Linked DNA regions of Homo sapiens: region 2 is linked to region 1. Evidence: promoter capture Hi-C in 16 types of primary human blood cells and fetal thymus (Javierre and others, 2016). All regions are on one chromosome and are shown on one strand. Each heading gives the region's core, a stretch centred on a gene start or on the middle of the fragment in contact. The rest is flanking DNA. Distances are from core to core; before and after follow the strand shown.

Region 1 (4,702 bases), core at 478-2,977:
CAAAATGTGAATGTAAGCGCTGGTAAATATCTAGAAGAACACACAAGGAACCGGGGCGTGGGGCGGATCGGGCAGAGGGACTTCCCTGTGCCTCACTGTTTGAATTCTGAAGGGTGCATACACGCCCTTATTGACCTGTGCTACTGGCCTCTGGCTAAAGAGGGCGCTGTAGCCACCAAAGTCCTGTTTACAGATCAGGAGTCTCAGTAAGCCAGCGTGGCTACGCCATCACGACCGGCGGTGGCACATGCGCAATAGCGAGACGCTGGAGCGCGGCGTAGGTGGCTGCCGAGTCTTTTCCTGTTTAGGGTCTTATCCTGGCATTGAGGGCGCCGGACTGGCGCTTTTGGCCGACTTGGCATTGGGTGGGCGGCTTCTTGGGACCCACATGAGCCAGTGGCATCATCCCCGCAGTGGCTGGGGCCGGAGACGCGACTTTTCAGGACGCTCCTCAGCCAAGAAGAAGGGCGGAAACCACATCCCCGAAAGGTAGTATGTCTTGGTCCCTTGGCGTGGCCTTTCCAGCTCGTGGCTTCTGGGTCTGGGCTTCATCGTTTGTGGTCTCTGCCTCTCGCCGTTGCCATCGCAAGCTTGACTTGTCCGCCGCTTGCTTTGAGGCTTTGACCCTCTGCGCCACCCGCTGTAGCTGAAAGGGGCGATGTCTGTGATGTCCTGTGATTTCTCCATATTCTTGTAAAAGGGAGGTTCTGGCCATTGCTCTTAGGTAAAATACGGAAGGATTGCTTTAAGGTGGGACTGTTACTGTTGGGGACACTCCTTAATTCCCAAAATGGAACCTCCTCAATTCCTTGTTACGTTGGCACGGAAAGTGTAATGGTTTGAGTTAGGAACCCAGCAGTAGTAGCGCCCTGAGATCTCACATGGAAAGTTGGTTTGTATTGTTTCCAGAAATCACAAAGAGCATACTTTGTTACTTCCTAACAGGCCTCATTTGAAAGATAACTCCTTTATACGTACAAATGATTAATTTTGAGACTTTGCACGTAGGTGCATTGAACTGTTTTTACTCCTTGAGACCATCCTCCACCATCTCATACCTCAATAAATCCTCTTCATTTTATCTACTATCTTTTGACTGTCACTTTCTGTCAGTACCCTAATACAGGTCTTGCCTGACTTATTGCAGTGGGGTTCTAATTAGTGAATCTCCTGTTTGTTTTCTTCCAATCCGTTTTTTTGTTTTTGTTTTTGGGATGGATTTTTGCTCTTCTCCGCCAGGCTGGAGTGCAATGGTCCAATCTCGGCTCACTGCAACCTCCGCCTCCCGGATTCAAGCGATTCTCCTCCCTCAGCCGCCCAAGTTGCTGGGATTACAGGCGCCCGCCACCACACCCGGCTAATTTTTTTTGTATTTTTAGTAGAGATGGGGTTTCACCATGTGGGTCAGGCTGGTCTCGAACTCCTGACCTCAGGTGATCCACCTGCCTCAGCCTCCCAAATTGCCGGGATTAACAGACGTGAGCCACCGCGCCCGGCCAGTTCCTAGCATTATTAAGTGAAGTTCACAGTCCCTCTTCTAGCAGGTTTTCTCTTAAAATATGAACTTGAAGTTTCCTACTAATTGAACTTTATGGCATCAGTCGTATGAAAACTAAAAGCGTGAAGTGAAATAATTGAATTTAAATTATTTCAGTGAATATGTTTGTATTAATGGCACTTTAGTATCTGGTACTGGGCCAAGTTTAACAGGGATACAGAAGTTCTGGGTATCTCCGGTTTTATATAGGCCTTATTTGAGTTGTACTGTTGTGTTGGCTTGTGTTCGTTTTTATGATGGGGAAACAGGAGAGAAGGACGGTATAGGTCGTTACTTGGTGGGGTTTAATAAGTGGAGTGGCGAAATGCAAAGCAGAGAGGAGAGAGGACATGTTGTGCGGGCTATGATTCCCATTTTCAAAAAGTCTTATTTTGTGCAAGGAAACAAGGCTAACATACAATTTGGCTAACAAAAAATATATCTAATAGGTGGAAAGACTATCTCCCAGTTGGACAGCGGATGCCTGGGACTCGTTTCATTGCTTTCAAAGTTCCTTTGCAAAAGGTAAGCAAAAGTTAATTCAGTATTCTTTCAGGCATCTGAGTTCACCATGCAGAACACTGCTCTCCACTCTATCACATTCCATTTTCTCTTTTTATAGCAAATACTTTGTAATGACCCCTTTACTATCCTGAAATGAAGTTCATAGGTACATACAACCTACTTCATATTTTAAACAAAAATACCAATTAACACCCTAACTATAATATAAAAAATAAAATAAAAGTAATTTATAATAAAATAATATTTATTTCAATATATAAATGTTTGGACATGACTACATTAAAAGACATAGAGTAATAGTTGCCTGCGCCATGAATTCAAGAATTACAAATGTAGACTGATCTAGGTGGGTTGTATTGCTTTAGTGGTAGGAGTTTCTGTAATAGATTTCCAAATATAACAAAGTATAATCTTCATTTGGTTGATAAGGTGATTATTATCCTGGAAAATTCAATATATATTAGTATTGTACAAAAAATACTTTGTGTTTATTTGTGAAATGGAGTTAGGTTCTGAGGCCAAGCTAAATATGAACAGCTTTTTATCTATATTAATCTTGAATAGGACATCCAAAAGCCATTCAGGATGTGGGACACATTTGTAGGACTGTCCTGAATTTGGCAAGTTGTTTAGAATTTGTAACCCTTACCCACTGAATGCCAGTGGGACTCCTTTCCTTCCATGGTCACAATCAGAAATATCCCCCGGATCATCAAGGTCAGGATTTCAGTGGGGAAAATCTGAAGATTGTATTTTTGTTTAAACTAGGAAAGGAATAGGAGGGATAGGAGGGGAAAGCTTTTGACAGCCATAAAAAAGATGAGAAGGTGAAGACAAATAATTGTTTTCTAGATTCCATGTCTTTCTTATTAGACTTCCCCAGCATAGCTCAGATTAGTATCAGGAGAAGCCTACTTGAAACGTTTTGGGAATTTACTTAATTTGTGACTTATAGATCAGATTTCCTTTTTCAACTGCTGTGTCAGCTTCTCTGCATGTCTGGGCTTAAAAATGAGTCATTTCAGGCCAGGCCTGTTGGATCATGTTTGTAATCCAGTACTTTGGGAGGCAAGGTGGGTGTATCGCTTGAGTCCAGGAGTTTTAGACCAGCCTGGGCAACACTGAAACCGTGTCTCTACAAAAAATACAAAAATTAACCAGGCGCGGTGGCGTGTGCTTGTAGTCTCAGCTGCTCAGGAGGCTGAAGTGGGAGGATCGATTGAACCCAGGAGGTCAAGGCTGCAGTGAGCCATGATCATGCCACTGTACTCCAGCCTGGGCAACAGAGCAAGACCCTGTCTCCAAAAAGAAGGTGTTGGAGACACAGGGAATTTTTAGGGAAGTGAAACTATTCTGTGTGATACTCTAAGGGTGGATACATGTTATATATTGATCAAAACCTATAAAAGGGCTTCACGTATATTAACACATTTCACAACAATCCTGTGCTGATGAAGTAGCAGTAGTACTAATATCTCTTACTGAGTGCTTATTCTGCACTAAGCTCAGAGAATAGATGGTTACATCTAATAAATAATTTTGTAGATAATCAAACAGGCTCAGAAAAGGAAGAATCAAAACTTGAACTTAGTTCTTTCTCTCATTTTTTTTGTGGCAAAATATATATAACATAATATGTACATACAATGCATAACATAGAATGAATCACGCATACCTAACCTCTAGACTTTGGTGATAACGATGTGTCAGAGTTGGTTCTTCATTTGTAACAAATGGACCACACTGGTATGGAATGTGGATAGTGGGGGAGTCTGGGTGGGTTGGGGAAGGCAAAGTACATGTGGGAACTATCTGTCCTTTTGGCTCAGTTTTGCTGTGAACCTAAAACTGCTCTGAAAACTAGTCTATTTTTTTTTTTTTTTTTTTGAGATGGTGTCTCGCTTGTCGCCCAGGCTGGAGTGCAGTGGTGTGATCTTGGTTCACTGCAAGCTCTGCCTCCTGGGTTCACGCCATTCTCCTGCCTCTGCCTCCTGAGTAGCTGGAACTACCGGCGCCTGCCACCACGCCTGGCTAATTTTTTTGTGTTTTTAGTAGAGATGGGGTTTCACCGTGTTAGCCAGGATGGTCTCGATCTCCTGACCTCGTGATCCTCCTGCCTCGGCCTCCCAAAGTGCTGGGATTACAGGCTTGAGCCACCGCACCCAGCCAAACTAGTCTATTTTTTAAAAAGTACATTGCTGGCACCTGAGTAGCCAGACAGATTGAAGGAACAGAGCATAAAGTTCAAAAATAAGCCACATACATAAAAGAATATTCAGCAATGAAAGCCATCCTTCATATATGTAGACATGTGAGAAATATTTATTTGTGAGGCCGAGACAGGAGGGTTGCTTGAGCTCAGGAGTTTGAGATCAGCCTGGGCTACATGGCAAGACGGCAAGACCCTATCTCTTTTTTTTTTTTTTTTTTTTTTTTAAATTTTTTTTTTGAGATGGAGTCACTCTGTCACCCAGGCTGGAGTGCAGTGGTGTGATCTCGGCTCACTGCAAGCTCTGCCTCCCGGGTTCACGCCATTCTCCTGCCTCAGCCTCCCGGTAGCTGGGACTACAGGCGCCTGCCACCACCCCTGGCTAATTTTTTGTATTTTTAGTAGAGACGGGGTTTCACAGTGTTAGCCAG
Region 2 (4,917 bases), core at 1,164-3,663, 740 kb before region 1:
TTCGTTGGGTGTGTAAGTATCCGACTCGCCTCCTGCCCGGGCGTGTTGCCGGAGGATGTGGCCAGCAGGCTGAACACACATGACAACGTGAGGCTCAAAGTCAGGAAGGAATCCTTAGCGATTATTTTACAGTTGAGGGATGAGATGCCCGGGGTGGACAACCCTCTGGTTTCGGTCACAATCAGCCAGCCTCTCGCGCTCCAGCACCCCCTCTATTGCTTCGCCGTGGTCGGTGTCTTCTTTCCTTCACACCTTTGGTACAGACCCAGCCGGCACCGCGCGCAACGCCGCTAGAGCCCCTCAGAGCCCCAGCTCCCGACCACCCGCCGGAGAATTTCGAGTCCCTCAGGAAAGCAGCTCCCATTGGCCAGCCCGGCCCCCTCCCCGCACCTCATTGGCTACTGTCCTGCAGGTCCCGCCCTCTCGGCGCCTCAGGTTCCAGCGAGGGCGTAACGGCAGTGAAGTGAAAAATGGCGGGAAAGGCCGCCTCTGAGCTGGCCGTGCATCTGCGCAACGCTGGCTTGGGAGCCGGCCGGTGGTGGAGGAGCCCTCGACGACAGCCTCAAGGCCTGCCGCTCCTCACGCGCCCGGCTGCCACTAGACCATGGACGCAGGCAGCCGCGCGCTCCACCGCTCCGGGCCCGGCGCTCCACGCCGATCGGACGGGCGTCGCTCACACCACCGAGGCGAGCCCGGACACTGAAGCCACTTTGTTGTCCTCGGCCCAGGGCTGCAGGTTCTGCAGCGCGAAGAGCGACGAGTTGTGCAGGCAGAGAGGGTCCGGGGGCAGCGGCGGCCGCAGCGGCCGTGGCAACGCGTCCTGCTGCAGATGCAGGAGCAGCCGGCCCGCGCGGTGCCGCTCGGCCTCGCGCTCCTCCGCCGTCTGGCGCCTAAGGGAGGGAGACGCGGGGTCAGCGGGGCGCCCGCCGCGTCGCTTCTCACCAGGCCCTGCTCGGGAACCCCAGTCCGCCCTCGCCCGCGCCGCGCCTCACCGCCACTTGGTGCGTCGGTTCTGGAACCACGTTTTGACCTGTGCGTCGGTCATGCGCAAGGCCTTGGCCAGCGCCGCCCTCTCCGCAGAGGCCAGGTACTTCTGGCGCAGGAAGCGCCGCTCCAACTCCAGCACCTGTGAGCGGGAGAAGGACGTGCGCGGCTTCTTCCGCTTCGGAGGGGTCCGGTTTTGGTAGGGGTGGCCTATGCGGCGCGTCCCAGAGAAGGGCGAGAGCGCAGCTACCGGGAGGAAGAAAGACCAGGGCAGGATTTGCAGGGTGGCCCGAGGTGCCACTGAGAAGGCCGCGCGGCTGTCCAGGCCGCAGAACTCCCGCGCCCTGTCCTTACCCGGGCCCTAAGCATCAGCCGAGCCCTATAGCCAAGAAAGGCCCTTCCCCTGGGATGCGAGGGAGACGTCCCCTGTAACTTCACCCTCCCCTCCCCACGCGTGGACAGTGGGACTACAGAGGAGGGCGCGGGCACCGACGGCAGCTCCCTCCCCATCACCTCTCGGAGGCAGGACCCAGAGATTTGAGTTGGGGGAGGATCCCCTGGGAGGATCTAGTGGGAGGTGTGAAAGGGGTCCTTGAGTTGGAGCAGAAAGCTAAGAAATGAGGAGACGGGGTCAGAGTCGGGCGTGACGCTGGAGGGGTCAGACAACCTCACCCGTGAGCCGGTCCTTGGCAAAGCGGCGGCCGCTGTCCATCCAGGGGAAGGTGAGTCCCGCTAGGCCTCCGGCGCCGCCCAAACCCGAGGGCCCAGGCACTGCAGGCGCCCCCCCAGCGGGCGGCGGCACAGGCAGCGGGCGGTGCGCAGGGACGCGGATCACGCCGCCTGGGCCCACTCCGGAGCTGCCGGGCAGCGGGGCAAGTGAGCCGGCGGGACCGTAGCCCGAGGCTCCGTGGTATCCACCCGAGAACGCCCCATTCTCCCCATGACCCTGGCCCCCGCGACCCAGGCCTAGACCGCCCCCTGGGGTTTCGGGGCCGCTCAGGATCTGATCGATGCCGAAGCTGATTGGCTCGTGGTGTGGGAGGTTGTGTGGACCCAGCATCCCCGGCTCCATCGGTCTGGGCCGAGGAGAACCGCCGGAGGTTCGGTGGTTGGGGAGGATGCCTCAGGCAGCGCCAGAAGCCCAGCGGCGGCGCGCTCCGGAGAGTGGCCTCAGGGGCCCGCGGGGCTGGCCAAGGCAGGGCGCCGGGGTCCCCGAAACAGCAGCATCCCTGTGCACCCGGAGCAGCCGCGCCCGTGCCAGCCGCTGCCGGGCGTCAGCGCAGGGACTTGCATCCCGGGGGAGCACGGCCAGCTGGGGCCCCTGGAGCTTCCTTGCTGGCTCTTAAGCGCAAATAGACGCTGGGCTGCCGGCGCCGCTGCCCAAGTCCCGGGTGGAGAGGGTTGGCCAGCTCCGGCTGGGGCAGTGACTGACGGATCGGCCCGGGTGGGTAGTGGGGGCTGGGGGTAGGGCAGGGGCGGGGCCCAGCAGTTAAAGGGGAAGGGACGCCTGTTTGCGCCAAGCGCAGGGGGAAGGCTGGCTGGCGGAGATGTGCGGGGAGGGGGACAGGGGGCCAGGGTGTTAGGAGCCAGGCTCAGCGCGGGAGGGGCCCGAGCATGGGCCGCTGAGTCAGCGGAGATGCTCACCGCGCCTCCATCCTTGCTGGCCTCCGCCTTTGGGCGGCCTCCGCCTTTGGGCTGCCTCCGCCTCACCGGCTTCCTCCGCAGGTGCCTCCTCCCCCAGCCCCCACTCTTCGCCTCTCGATGGATCCTTCTGGCCAACTCCCGGATTCGTTGTGGTCCCCGCCTAAATGCTCTCGAAGACCAAATCTCGTTGTGGTTTCCCGGCTGCGTAAGAAGCGGCTGGGGAACGGCGCCCGGTGAGCTGCAGGCCCAGGAAGAGAACAGGTGTGGGAAGGGGACGGCAGGGGCTAAGGGCGGGGAACGGCCGCTTTGGGCTGGCGATCGTGGTGCGCCTTCTGGCCTCTCCTGTAGGTCCCCCCAGCCCTGTTCATGCGCACCGGTAATTGGTGTCCTGTGTTTCCTAGAATTTCGATTTTCCAAAATCCGTGTAAAACGGACCATGGCTCAACCCGGGCCAAATCAGGCCGGCGGGTTCTTGGGGCTGGCACTTACCCCCGGACCCCAAGTGCAGGGAGTCCTCAATGCAGGACTCTGCCCCTCCATTCTGTGCCTAGGAAGTCTGTTCTCACACTCTTCCTCCTCAACGGCGGGAGGGCGAAATCTCGCCACGGGGGACACGTGGGACCTCACTGAGGCCTTGGTTGGATCCTGGCCGCCTTGTTTCCCATAAACATTTTACCCCACCCAAACTCAAAAAATGGCCTGGAGCTGTCAGAGAAGGGAGGTGGGGAAAGACCTAAGCCGCTTGGTGACCTTGTGACCTCTGGCCATGAATCCAGGAGCCGGGAGTGCGTGAACTCTGCGTCCTTCCCGGGGATGGGACCCCCGCGGGCGGGCCCCTGAGCCTTAGACCCGCCCCCGCCGCCGCCCTGCCCGGTGCAGGCCGCGGTAATCGGGTTAGCTGGGCCGGAATTACATTACCTTCCCCGGCCCGCCCCGGCCCCCGGGGGGGCCCTGGCGCCTCTGAGCCGGTGAGACTGGGCTCAGAGAGGGGGGCGCTTCTACCATCCTGCGGTGGCGGTGGCGGGTGGGCACCAACGAGCAGCTCAGCCTACCTCTGACACGTGGTGGCCAAAGGACCTTACCCTGCTGTGCCAGCCCTCTACCCTCGTCCCGAGCCCACCCCGCTGTTCAGCTCCATCCTGCTGGTTCCCGTGTGAACCGAAATGCTTTGTAAGTCTACTAGCTGGATCTCCCTGGGAGCACTGATCTTCAAACTGATTCTCCAGGATCCCCTGGGAAAGACTCTGCCCCCTCCTTTCTCCCCAGCAGATGGGCTGGCAGCCTGGCGCCTGGGGCAGGGTGAAGGGGTCTTTTCTCCCCTGGGAACCAGGAATGATATTTGGGCATCTGGGCAGAAAGATAAAGAAGAGAAAGAAGGGTGAGCTCTGTCCACCAGCCCTTCAGTGTTCTCTGAAGCCTTATATCTAGAGGAGGTGAACCATAAATGGGACAGAGGGCAGTGGGAGGAATAGTGGGCATTAATATGTGTCAACCTGCCAGGCGCGGTGGCTCACGCCTGTAATACCAGCACTTTGGGAGGCCGAGGCGGGTGGATCACGAGGTCAGGAGATTGAGACCATCCTGGCTAACACGGTGAAACCCATCTCTACTAAAAATACAAAAATTAGCTGGGCGTGGTGGCGGGTGCCTGTAGTCCCAGCTACTTGGGAGGCTGAGGCAGGAGAATGGCATGAACCCGGGAGGTGGAGCTTGCAGTGAGCCGAGATCGCGCCACTGCACTCCAGCCTGGGCAACACAGCAAGACTCTGTCTGAAAAAAAAAAAAAAGTGTCAACCTCCCCCACCTTGACCACTCTACTATCCAATTTGTCCAGCCCCTCCTCAGCCCTGCTAACAGCCCGTTCTGAAAGAGGGTGGGGGCTCCTACCAATTTAGCAGATGTATTTTCATCTTGATGGAGAAGACAGACATTATCACCTCCCGTCTCTTTACAGAAACCCATGCACTTTTCTCAGCAGTAGAGAGGGCTACAAGGAAGCATGAACCTGTTTAGTCCAAATCTTCAGGCCGGGAGCAGTGGCTCATGCCTGTAATCCCACCACTTTGGAATGCCAAGAGGGGACGGATCACCTGATGTCAGGAGTTCAAGACCAGCCTGGCCAACATGGTGAAACCCCGTCTCTATTAAAAATACAAAAAAATTAGCTGGGCATGTTGGCAGGTGCCTGTAATCTCAGCTACTGGGGAGGCTGAGGCAGGAGAATCACTTGAACCAGGGAGGCAGAGGTTTCAGTGAGCGGAGATCACCACTGCATTCCAGTCTGGGGAA

Evidence for each region. Contacts are between HindIII fragments. The CHiCAGO score rates a contact against its expected background, and 5 or more counts as called.
Region 2: a contact is called between the fragment with the promoter of TLX2 here and a fragment that was not itself captured in region 1, in 4 of 17 cell types (naive CD8 T cells, naive CD4 T cells, non-activated CD4 T cells and 1 more). The highest score is 8.9, in naive CD8 T cells.

What each region holds. Positions count from the first base shown.
Region 1 is chr2:73,775,661-73,780,362 of GRCh38, reverse strand. It overlaps DUSP11 (dual specificity phosphatase 11), which reads left to right and starts at 260. Exons shown (of 9, transcript NM_003584.3): 1 at 260-489; 2 at 1,987-2,062. The coding sequence starts at 389. RefSeq lists enhancers at 289-358, 439-488, 619-768. The HindIII fragment of the contact is 2,270 bases long and covers 593-2,862 here.
Region 2 is chr2:74,511,946-74,516,862 of GRCh38, reverse strand. TLX2 (T cell leukemia homeobox 2) reads right to left here and starts at 2,413. Exons shown (of 3, transcript NM_016170.5): 1 at 1,657-2,413; 2 at 993-1,230; 3 at 1-890. The coding sequence starts at 2,056. The coding sequence ends at 674. RefSeq lists enhancers at 176-675, 676-1,177, 3,427-4,095 and silencers at 1,706-1,775, 2,356-2,455, 3,493-3,552. The HindIII fragment of the contact is 6,557 bases long and covers 1-4,917 here.